Linked DNA regions of Homo sapiens: region 2 is linked to region 1. Evidence: promoter capture Hi-C in 16 types of primary human blood cells and fetal thymus (Javierre and others, 2016). All regions are on one chromosome and are shown on one strand. Each heading gives the region's core, a stretch centred on a gene start or on the middle of the fragment in contact. The rest is flanking DNA. Distances are from core to core; before and after follow the strand shown.

The links. The method cuts DNA at HindIII sites, captures the fragments that hold promoters and counts their contacts. A CHiCAGO score of 5 or more calls a contact.
Region 2: a fragment that was not itself captured here is called in contact with the fragment with the promoter of NPR1 in region 1 in 16 of 17 cell types (M2 macrophages, M0 macrophages, endothelial precursors and 13 more); the score reaches 18.1 in M2 macrophages.

The regions. Positions count from the first base shown.
Region 1 is chr1:153,676,115-153,680,132 of GRCh38, forward strand. It overlaps NPR1 (natriuretic peptide receptor 1), which reads left to right and starts at 2,574. Exons shown (of 22, transcript NM_000906.4): 1 at 2,574-3,715. The coding sequence starts at 2,995. RefSeq lists enhancers at 1,811-2,792, 2,793-3,773 and a silencer at 3,315-3,374. The HindIII fragment of the contact is 5,247 bases long and covers 469-4,018 here.
Region 2 is chr1:153,940,276-153,944,966 of GRCh38, forward strand. DENND4B (DENN domain containing 4B) reads right to left here. Exons shown (of 28, transcript NM_014856.3): 2 at 3,783-4,122; 3 at 2,603-2,855; 4 at 2,281-2,350; 5 at 1,912-2,081; 6 at 1,594-1,838; 7 at 1,099-1,165; 8 at 956-1,014; 9 at 629-773; 10 at 156-331. The coding sequence starts at 4,099. Among named protein-coding and RNA genes, the nearest start is that of DENND4B, 4.1 kb to the right of the region's middle. The HindIII fragment of the contact is 4,975 bases long and covers 1-4,649 here.

The DNA.
Region 1 (4,018 bases), core at 1,324-3,823:
CTTCCGCCTCCCAAAGTGCTGGGACTACAGGTATGAGACACCATGCCCAGCCAGTTCTTTGATTTTTAAAAAAGTATTTCATCCAACACTTTTAGTTGTCTGTAGCTTTAGGGCTAGTTCACCATTATTGAAAGGAGCTCAATTACTAAACTATATTTCTAGTCCAGTCATTTCTTCTGAGCTCCAGCTCCACTAGTCCGAGGCCTATCAGACACTTCCACTTGATTATCTATAGGCACCTCACATCCAATAAACTAAAAGTATCATCCTTCCAAAACCTTCTTCAGCTTCTCAGCTAATGGGATCAACATCACCTAGATCTGTTATTTGTATAATGTCCTCACTTCCCAAAGTTCAACTGATTCTACTTACAAAACATCTCCCCATCTGCATCTGCTGTCTACCTCTACAATCTCTGGAATCCGCCATCTCCATTACAGGACAAGAACATTATGCCTGTCACACAAAAGCTTTCATAATCTTCCCTCCACTGCCCTCTTCCCTGCCTCTCTTCCTCAGTCATCCTACATGCACACACCTTACATCCTAGATCAGGGCTGAAAACACAAACTCCTACTACAGCCAGGCAGGTAATGCACCTGAGTGAAGCAGGGTGCCTAGGAACCATAATGAACTAGACTCATTTCAAGGAGATAATGGATACTTGCTCTGGTTAATTGCTCATGGAGGGATGCAGGACAATATATTGCCAGCTCTTCCAATATTTTAAGGAAAGTCAGAAATCCAGGTTGGGCCTGGTGGCTCACACATGTTATCCAGGAATTTTGGGAGGCCAATGCAAGAGGATCGCTTGAGCCTAGGAGTTCAAGACCAGCCTGGGCAACATAGGGAGACCTCCATCTTTGAAGGAAAAAAAAAAAAAAGTCAGAAATCCAAATATTCATGTACCATCTTTTTTTTTTTTTTTTTTTTGAGACGGAGTCTTGCTCTGTTGCCCAGGCTGGAGTGCAGTGGCGCAATCTCGGCTCGTTGCAACCTCTGTCTCCCGGATTCAAGCAATTCTCTACCTCAGCCTCCCAAGTAGCTGGGATTACAGGCGGCCGCCACCATGTCTGGCTAATTTTTGTATTTTTAGTAGAGACGGGGTTTCACCATCTTGGCCAGGCTGATCTTGAACTCCTGACCTCATGATCCACCCACCCTGACCTCCCAAAGTGCTGGGATTAGAGGCTTGAGCCACCTTGCCCGGCCCCATCTTATGATATTTAAGTGTGGGGAATTAAATACAATATACATAAAGAGAATGCAAGCCAAAGCATGCCTGCCATCTCAAGTTGGCCTATCGACCACAATTTGCTCTAGATAATAAGAATATTCAAGTCTCCTAAAATTCCATATATAGGAAATGTACTTCAACATTCTGCTCTGTCTACACAGAATACCTTTCTCATCCTTCCATCCTCTTGAATTATTTCTTTTTTGGAGATTTTCTGGCCCCAATCCAAGCAGAATGAATAGCCCTCATCTGAGTCCTTTAGCAATTTATCCATGTCTCCCCTGTAGTGCTTAATGCATGTTGCATTACGGTTATTTGTCCCAAATGGAGCTCCTCAAAGGCACGGACTATATATATTCATCTTTATGCCCTCGGCACCTAGTGGGTGCTTAATGCACCGAAGGTTCTCTGGAAATGTTTGCTGACCTGAAGTTTGGTGATCTTATGTCCTGCTTAGGCGCAGCGTTGGAGAGGTTGGCGCTGCAATGCCGTCAATAACCCCCGATGACCATTAGAGGGCACACTGATTCCACAGCAGTCTGCACCGGGGGCCCAGCTGTCAAGTGCTCCAAAACCCACTCCCCAATTTACGCCTCCAGTGGTCATCTCCCACAGCCTTCATTTTAACAACCCTCAACACAAAACAGTCATTTTCTTGGGGCGTCCCTGAGGTGTGAACCTCCTCCCTCCCAGACACCCACCCACTCTCCCCATCTTCCTACAATTTGGGCGCTAAAGATTTAATTCCTCTCTGACACCAGATCATTTTTTCACAGCTAATCTGCACAGTCTGGAAGGTGGCAGGGAGGGAAAGAGAGGGAGATCATAGAAGGAATGGGTAACAAGCACTCTGGGCTCACCTTCAACTTTAACGGACTTTCCAGAAACCCGTCACCTTCCACCCCACACCCAAACACACACATCCACGCACTCACTCAGTTTCCTGCCAGGATCCCAAACCAGCACACCTTTCCCTCTTCCCCCGAGGAGACCAGGTAGGAGGCGAGGGAAAAGGTGGGGCGCAAGTGGGCCCCGGTTGCTTCCACACACACCCTCCGTTCAGCCGTCCTTTCCATCCCGGCGAGGGCGCACCTTCAGAGGGTCCTGTCCTCCAAAGAGGTAGGCGTGGGGCGGCCGAGACCGGGGAAGATGGTCCACGGGGAAGCGCGCGGGCTGGGCGGCGGGGAGGAAGGAGTTAAAGATCCTGGATTGGCTCTTCTGTCACTGAGTCTGGGAGGGGAAGCGGCTGGGAGGGAGGGTTCGGAGCTTGGCTCGGGTCCTCCACGGTTCCCTCCGGATAGCCGGAGACTTGGGCCGGCCGGACGCCCCTTCTGGCACACTCCCTGGGGCAGGCGCTCACGCACGCTACAAACACACACTCCTCTTTCCTCCCTCGCGCGCCCTCTCTCATCCTTCTTCACGAAGCGCTCACTCGCACCCTTTCTCTCTCTCTCTCTCTCTCTCTAACACGCACGCACACTCCCAGTTGTTCACACTCGGGTCCTCTCCAGCCCGACGTTCTCCTGGCACCCACCTGCTCCGCGGCGCCCTGCGCGCCCCCCTCGGTCGCGCCCCTTGCGCTCTCGGCCCAGACCGTCGCAGCTACAGGGGGCCTCGAGCCCCGGGGTGAGCGTCCCCGTCCCGCTCCTGCTCCTTCCCATAGGGACGCGCCTGATGCCTGGGACCGGCCGCTGAGCCCAAGGGGACCGAGGAGGCCATGGTAGGAGCGCTCGCCTGCTGCGGTGCCCGCTGAGGCCATGCCGGGGCCCCGGCGCCCCGCTGGCTCCCGCCTGCGCCTGCTCCTGCTCCTGCTGCTGCCGCCGCTGCTGCTGCTGCTCCGGGGCAGCCACGCGGGCAACCTGACGGTAGCCGTGGTACTGCCGCTGGCCAATACCTCGTACCCCTGGTCGTGGGCGCGCGTGGGACCCGCCGTGGAGCTGGCCCTGGCCCAGGTGAAGGCGCGCCCCGACTTGCTGCCGGGCTGGACGGTCCGCACGGTGCTGGGCAGCAGCGAAAACGCGCTGGGCGTCTGCTCCGACACCGCAGCGCCCCTGGCCGCGGTGGACCTCAAGTGGGAGCACAACCCCGCTGTGTTCCTGGGCCCCGGCTGCGTGTACGCCGCCGCCCCAGTGGGGCGCTTCACCGCGCACTGGCGGGTCCCGCTGCTGACCGCCGGCGCCCCGGCGCTGGGCTTCGGTGTCAAGGACGAGTATGCGCTGACCACCCGCGCGGGGCCCAGCTACGCCAAGCTGGGGGACTTCGTGGCGGCGCTGCACCGACGGCTGGGCTGGGAGCGCCAAGCGCTCATGCTCTACGCCTACCGGCCGGGTGACGAAGAGCACTGCTTCTTCCTCGTGGAGGGGCTGTTCATGCGGGTCCGCGACCGCCTCAATATTACGGTGGACCACCTGGAGTTCGCCGAGGACGACCTCAGCCACTACACCAGGCTGCTGCGGACCATGCCGCGCAAAGGCCGAGGTGAGACGCTGGCACACCCCGTCCCGCCGCTTAGCCGCAGGGCCTCCCCTCTGACCTGCCGGAGGCATCGGGACTTTCTCTCTCATCTGGGGGCACTCTTCTTTCTCCTCGCCGTTCTTCATTCTACTTTCAGCTCCCTGGCCCTTTCTACAGCTGAGTTTCTATTTCCCTCTCTTCTTCCGCCACCCCCACCACGTCTCTATCCTCTCATCTCCCCGACCCCCACTCATTCCCTCCCACCCTAGCACAGCTCGGTTCCGGTCCCTTTTTCCCTCCCACATTTTCTCTCTTCCCTATAGCCTT
Region 2 (4,691 bases), core at 912-3,411, 260 kb after region 1:
GGAAAGAGTGGCGAGGCTCTGGGATAGGGTGACGGGGTTCCTTGCCAGCCTCCCTCACTTTGTGCCTGAAGCTCTTTTTGAGCCCGTAGCACTCCACACACTAGCCCATTCCTGCCCACCACCCTGCAGCCCCCAAATGAGACCCAGCCTCTTACTGGAAGAGCGTGTTGGTATCAAGGTCTACACAGATGACATCAGCAGGCGGGTCATGCAGATCAAAGTAGCTGGAGTGGATACCCACAATGAAGGGCACTGGGGCACTCAGCACATCTGCCAGCACCAGCGGGCACAGAGGAATGTAGGGGCACTGCCAGTGCAGTGGGAAGATCATCTGAAGCACCAGGCAGTGAGAACCAGTGAACAGGGGGTTGAGGCAGCAGTGGGAGGCACAGGAGAGAGAAAGAGAGGGCATTGGCCTTGGGGAGTTGGTGCCTGTTGAGAGAGGCTGTTGGAAGTAGGCTCTAGAGAAGAGCTCCTGATGGAAGCTATGTGTTCCTGCAGGCTGTGCCCAGGGAAAGGGGCTGAGGATCCTCCACAAGGAAGGAAAAGGGAAGAGTCCAGGCAGGGATAGGGGCACCAGAAAGAACCATGGTTCTGGGGAAGATGGGCCAGGCGGGGCGGCACTCACCGAGACGAGGGCCTCACAGACGCTGGTGAGCAGGTCTGGCCGCAGCGAGTGGACTAGCAGCTTGTGCTCTGTGAGCACAGCCAGCAGCAGTGTGATAGCCAGCTCAGGGCCCAGGCTCTGCAGCAGCTGCAGGAAGCTGGCACCACTGCAGGCAATGCCGAGGTGGGGAAAGGGTCACCAGGATACCCTGGGGACCCTTCCCCAGATGCCAGGCACAGCCACCACCTGGACCCAGCCTGCATAAACCTCAACAGCTGCACCCACCTGCCCAGCACCTACCATGTCCTTGGTCATTAAAGCTCCCCTCCCCACAATCTGATCACATACCTGAGGGGCAGGGGTGAGGATACAGGCTGACAGAGGAGCAAGTTGTCATAGGGAGACATCTGGAAGGGAAGAAGAGCCACGGCTCAGGGTAATGATGCCAACTCCCCTCCTTCCATCAGCCCGGCCCCAGCCTCAGCTCTCACCTGCACTAGGATGCGGGGTCTCTGTGGGGAAGGGAAGGGAACGTTGTGAATGAAGTGGGAGATGTGCCTGGGGGACAGAGAAACAGGTCAGAGCATACTCCCCCGTCCATCCCTGTCCTCCCTCCACATTTTCTCAGCTCTTTCACTTGTTCTCAAGAACCTTATTCCTTCCTGAACCCCACTTTGAGACCTGTTATCAGCCAACAGAACCTCCATTATGCATATAATTTGTGCAGATCAGAAAAGAAATCCTCCCTGGGCATACACAGCCCTTTGCCAGGACCTAACTAGTAAGTTTAGACTGGATTTCAGGCCCTGCTCCCCTCCTCAGCCCGTGGCGTTTTTACAGTGGATAAACTGTATAACCACACACTGCAGCCCTGTCCCTTACCCTGTGCCCAGCCCTCCCCCCACCCACATCTGAATCTCTCCCATCTCTCCTGGCCCCCTTATCCCTTCCTAACCCCTTCCCAATGGCAGAGGAGCCATGCTCACGCTTCCAAGGGTAGGCGGTGGGGGCCTGAGACGGAGTAGCGGTAAAGGAAGGTGAGGAAGGCGCGGAAGGCAGGGAAGGCAGGCCAGCGGGACAGCACAGCGATGGCACGCCGGCTGCGCACAGCTCTGCCCCCCAGTGCCCGACCCCGCTCCACGGCGCTCAGCAGGCCCAGTGCCCGTGCCTGTCGCTCTGATAGCCTGGCCCTTGGGAACGCCTCGTAGAACTGCAGGGCGGCACCATACACCTGGCAGGGGGCAGAAGGGTAGTCAGGCAGGCCCTGCATAGCCTGGACCCCTTGCCACACTCCACACACCCACCTTATCACCAGCTGCACCCGTGAGCACAAAGGTGGAGAAGACGGGCACGGGGTACTTGGTCTGGGCAGGCCAGCACTCGATAGTGGCCCCCATGGGCAGGCAGAAGACGGGCACTGACTCGGGCAGCGGGAACGCCTCATTGTCCTCCTCCGGGTAGCGGCCCAGCAGCTCTGCACCCCCAGCATAGTTGGGGGTACCCAAAAGGAGCAGGGTCCATCAGACTCCAAGGGAAATGAACCAAGGGATCCCAGAGAAGGCCCGAGTAGCAAAGAGAAAGTAAACTCTGGGGACACTTAAGGTGCCTGCCAAGAGGCACCAGGGCAAAGGGATGTAGGGTCACAGGATTGGAGGGATAAAGGGGCCACTCACCTGCCTCGTACACCAGCGTGTTGGCCTTCGCCAGGCCCACCTTATAGCACAGGTACACTGCTGGGCCCCACTACCCCAGAAATGGCAAGAGACAAGCAGATACATAGCTAACAAAGGTTTCTGGGGTCCACTTTCTCTCTACCACCCCTAAATGTTCTTTTGTCTTTAAAGCTCCCATTAATCCCAGTGCCCCAAGACCAGAGTTACCCCTCTGGACTCACCCCTGTGGTCAGAGCCTTGGTCCTGGGATGCCCTTTGTTCCCAGTGTCCACACCCACTCTTACACCAAGAGGACCAGGTGTCAGCTCTTGGCCCCACTCACCATGCCAGGGTTGAGGTTGCGGGGCAGCCGGCAGTAAGTATGAGGAGTGCCCTCGCCCTTACTGGGCAGCACCAGGCAGAGGTCAGTGATGCCCAGGGCATGCAGCCCTGCCCCCTCTGCTGCCCGCCGGTAAGTGAGGTAGGTGCGGGGGTGCCCGGGGCCTGGAGGGGCCAGGTTTGCTGAGTGGCTGTAGGGTGTCGTGTCAAGCACTTGGAAGCCAGGCTTGGGACGTTCCTTCCCCTCATACAACACCCTTGGCACAGAGAGCAAAGATAGATGTTGAGAGGTCAGGGTAGAGGACAAAGACCCAATCCTGCCAGATCTGCCTATCTAATCCCCTGAACTTGCCTTGTACCCACAGCCTTGTCAAACTCTAACACTAGGGCCCACCTCTTCTTGCTGAACTCTGCCCTCCAGAATCCTGTGCCCTTTCTTTGGCCTTTGGCCTTATTTCATGGTCAGCAACAATCCTGCATGCCTTCTATGGCTCTCATACTCATTAATAAACACTAAGGGTCAGCTGGGCACGGTGGCTCATGCCTATAATCCCAGCACTTTGGGAGGCCAAGGCAGGTGGATCACCTGAGGTCAGGGGTTCAGGACCAGCCTGGCCAACATGGTCAAACCCCATCTCTACTAAAAATTCAAAAATTAGCTGGACGTGGTGGCACATGCCTATAGTCTCAGCTACTCAGGAAGCTGAGGCAGGAGAATTGCCTGAACCCAGGAGGCGAAGGTTGCAGTGAGCCAAGATCACACCACTGCACTCCAGCCTGAGTGACAGAGAGAGACTCTGTCTATAAAAAAAAAAAAAAAAAAAAAAATAGTTATACAAGCTACCACTGACTGACTCTGTTAAGTCTGTCACATGGGTTATCTCATTTAATCTCGACCATCCTATGAGGATGAATTATTTTCCCCATTTGACAGATGAGGAAAACAGGCCCAGAGGAGCTCAAAAACCTGCCTAAGCTCTCAGAGCTAGCAAGGAGCAGCACTAGCACATGAAATCGCATCTGTAAGGACTAAGTACATACAACTTCAGTCCTTCCTTCCTGGCCCCTGGCCCACCAGGCTCCCATCCCCATTGCCCTTCCCTTGTTCCATAGTCCTACCTCTCCCTGTCTCACTGGAGTCCCTCCCAGCCTCCCCTGGTGCCAGCATGGGTAGGGGCACACACCCCAGCTCAACGAGGGGGGGCTTGTCACGGCCCCTGCGGTAGCAGATGACGGGTTGAGTTCCACCCAGAAGTCCAGCACTGAGTTCCAAGGGGTGGCCCCCAGCAGAAGCCTGGATGCATGTGTAGCCCTGGGGCACTTCCTCGCCCAGTGCCCTAGCGATGACTGCCACATCTGTGATGGGCTCAGCTGGCCGGGGAGGGCGCAGGGGCCCACTGGGTTCAGGAACCCACGTTTCCTCAGGGATGGGTGCTCCGTTCCCTGCAAGCCCAGCTACCACGAAGTAATCCACCAGCCGGGGGGGCCGCTCCTCCGCCATGGCCCCCCCCTCACTCACTGCATCTGGAATGGTCAAGTGGGAGAGAGATGAAGCAAGGAAGGCTGGGGATGCCATGGCAACCAGGGTACCCTCTTGCTCCCCTCCTCTTCCTAGTCCTTCCAAAGAAAGGCAGGATAAGGGGTCGGCCAATCCTGAACTCTTCCCCCTGTGACATCACTGCCCACCACAGCTTCTTAAAGAGACCAGATCCCTCCCACTTAATGGTCCTGGCACTCCCCTCAAAGAACCTAAACTCCACCACACACAGCTAACCTGAGCTATGACATTCACATTGTCCATGTGTCCCTTTTAAAGGCTCACCAGTTATAACATCACAGAGATCACAATCTTTTTTGTAATAGCCTTCCATGACATCATTCATGCTGGCCATGACATCATACCAACCTTACAGTCTTTTCAAGGGTTTCTGACCTTCCTACTCTAGTTATGACACCATAAGAACCTTGTGATCCTGCCAATGTTCTTAAAGAGCCCACTCCTAGGTTTTTAAGAGGACCCCATGGGTTTCTGAGAAAGCCCACAAAACCCAAGCTTTAAGAGTCTTTTCAACGAACCCAAGTGTCCTTTCTCC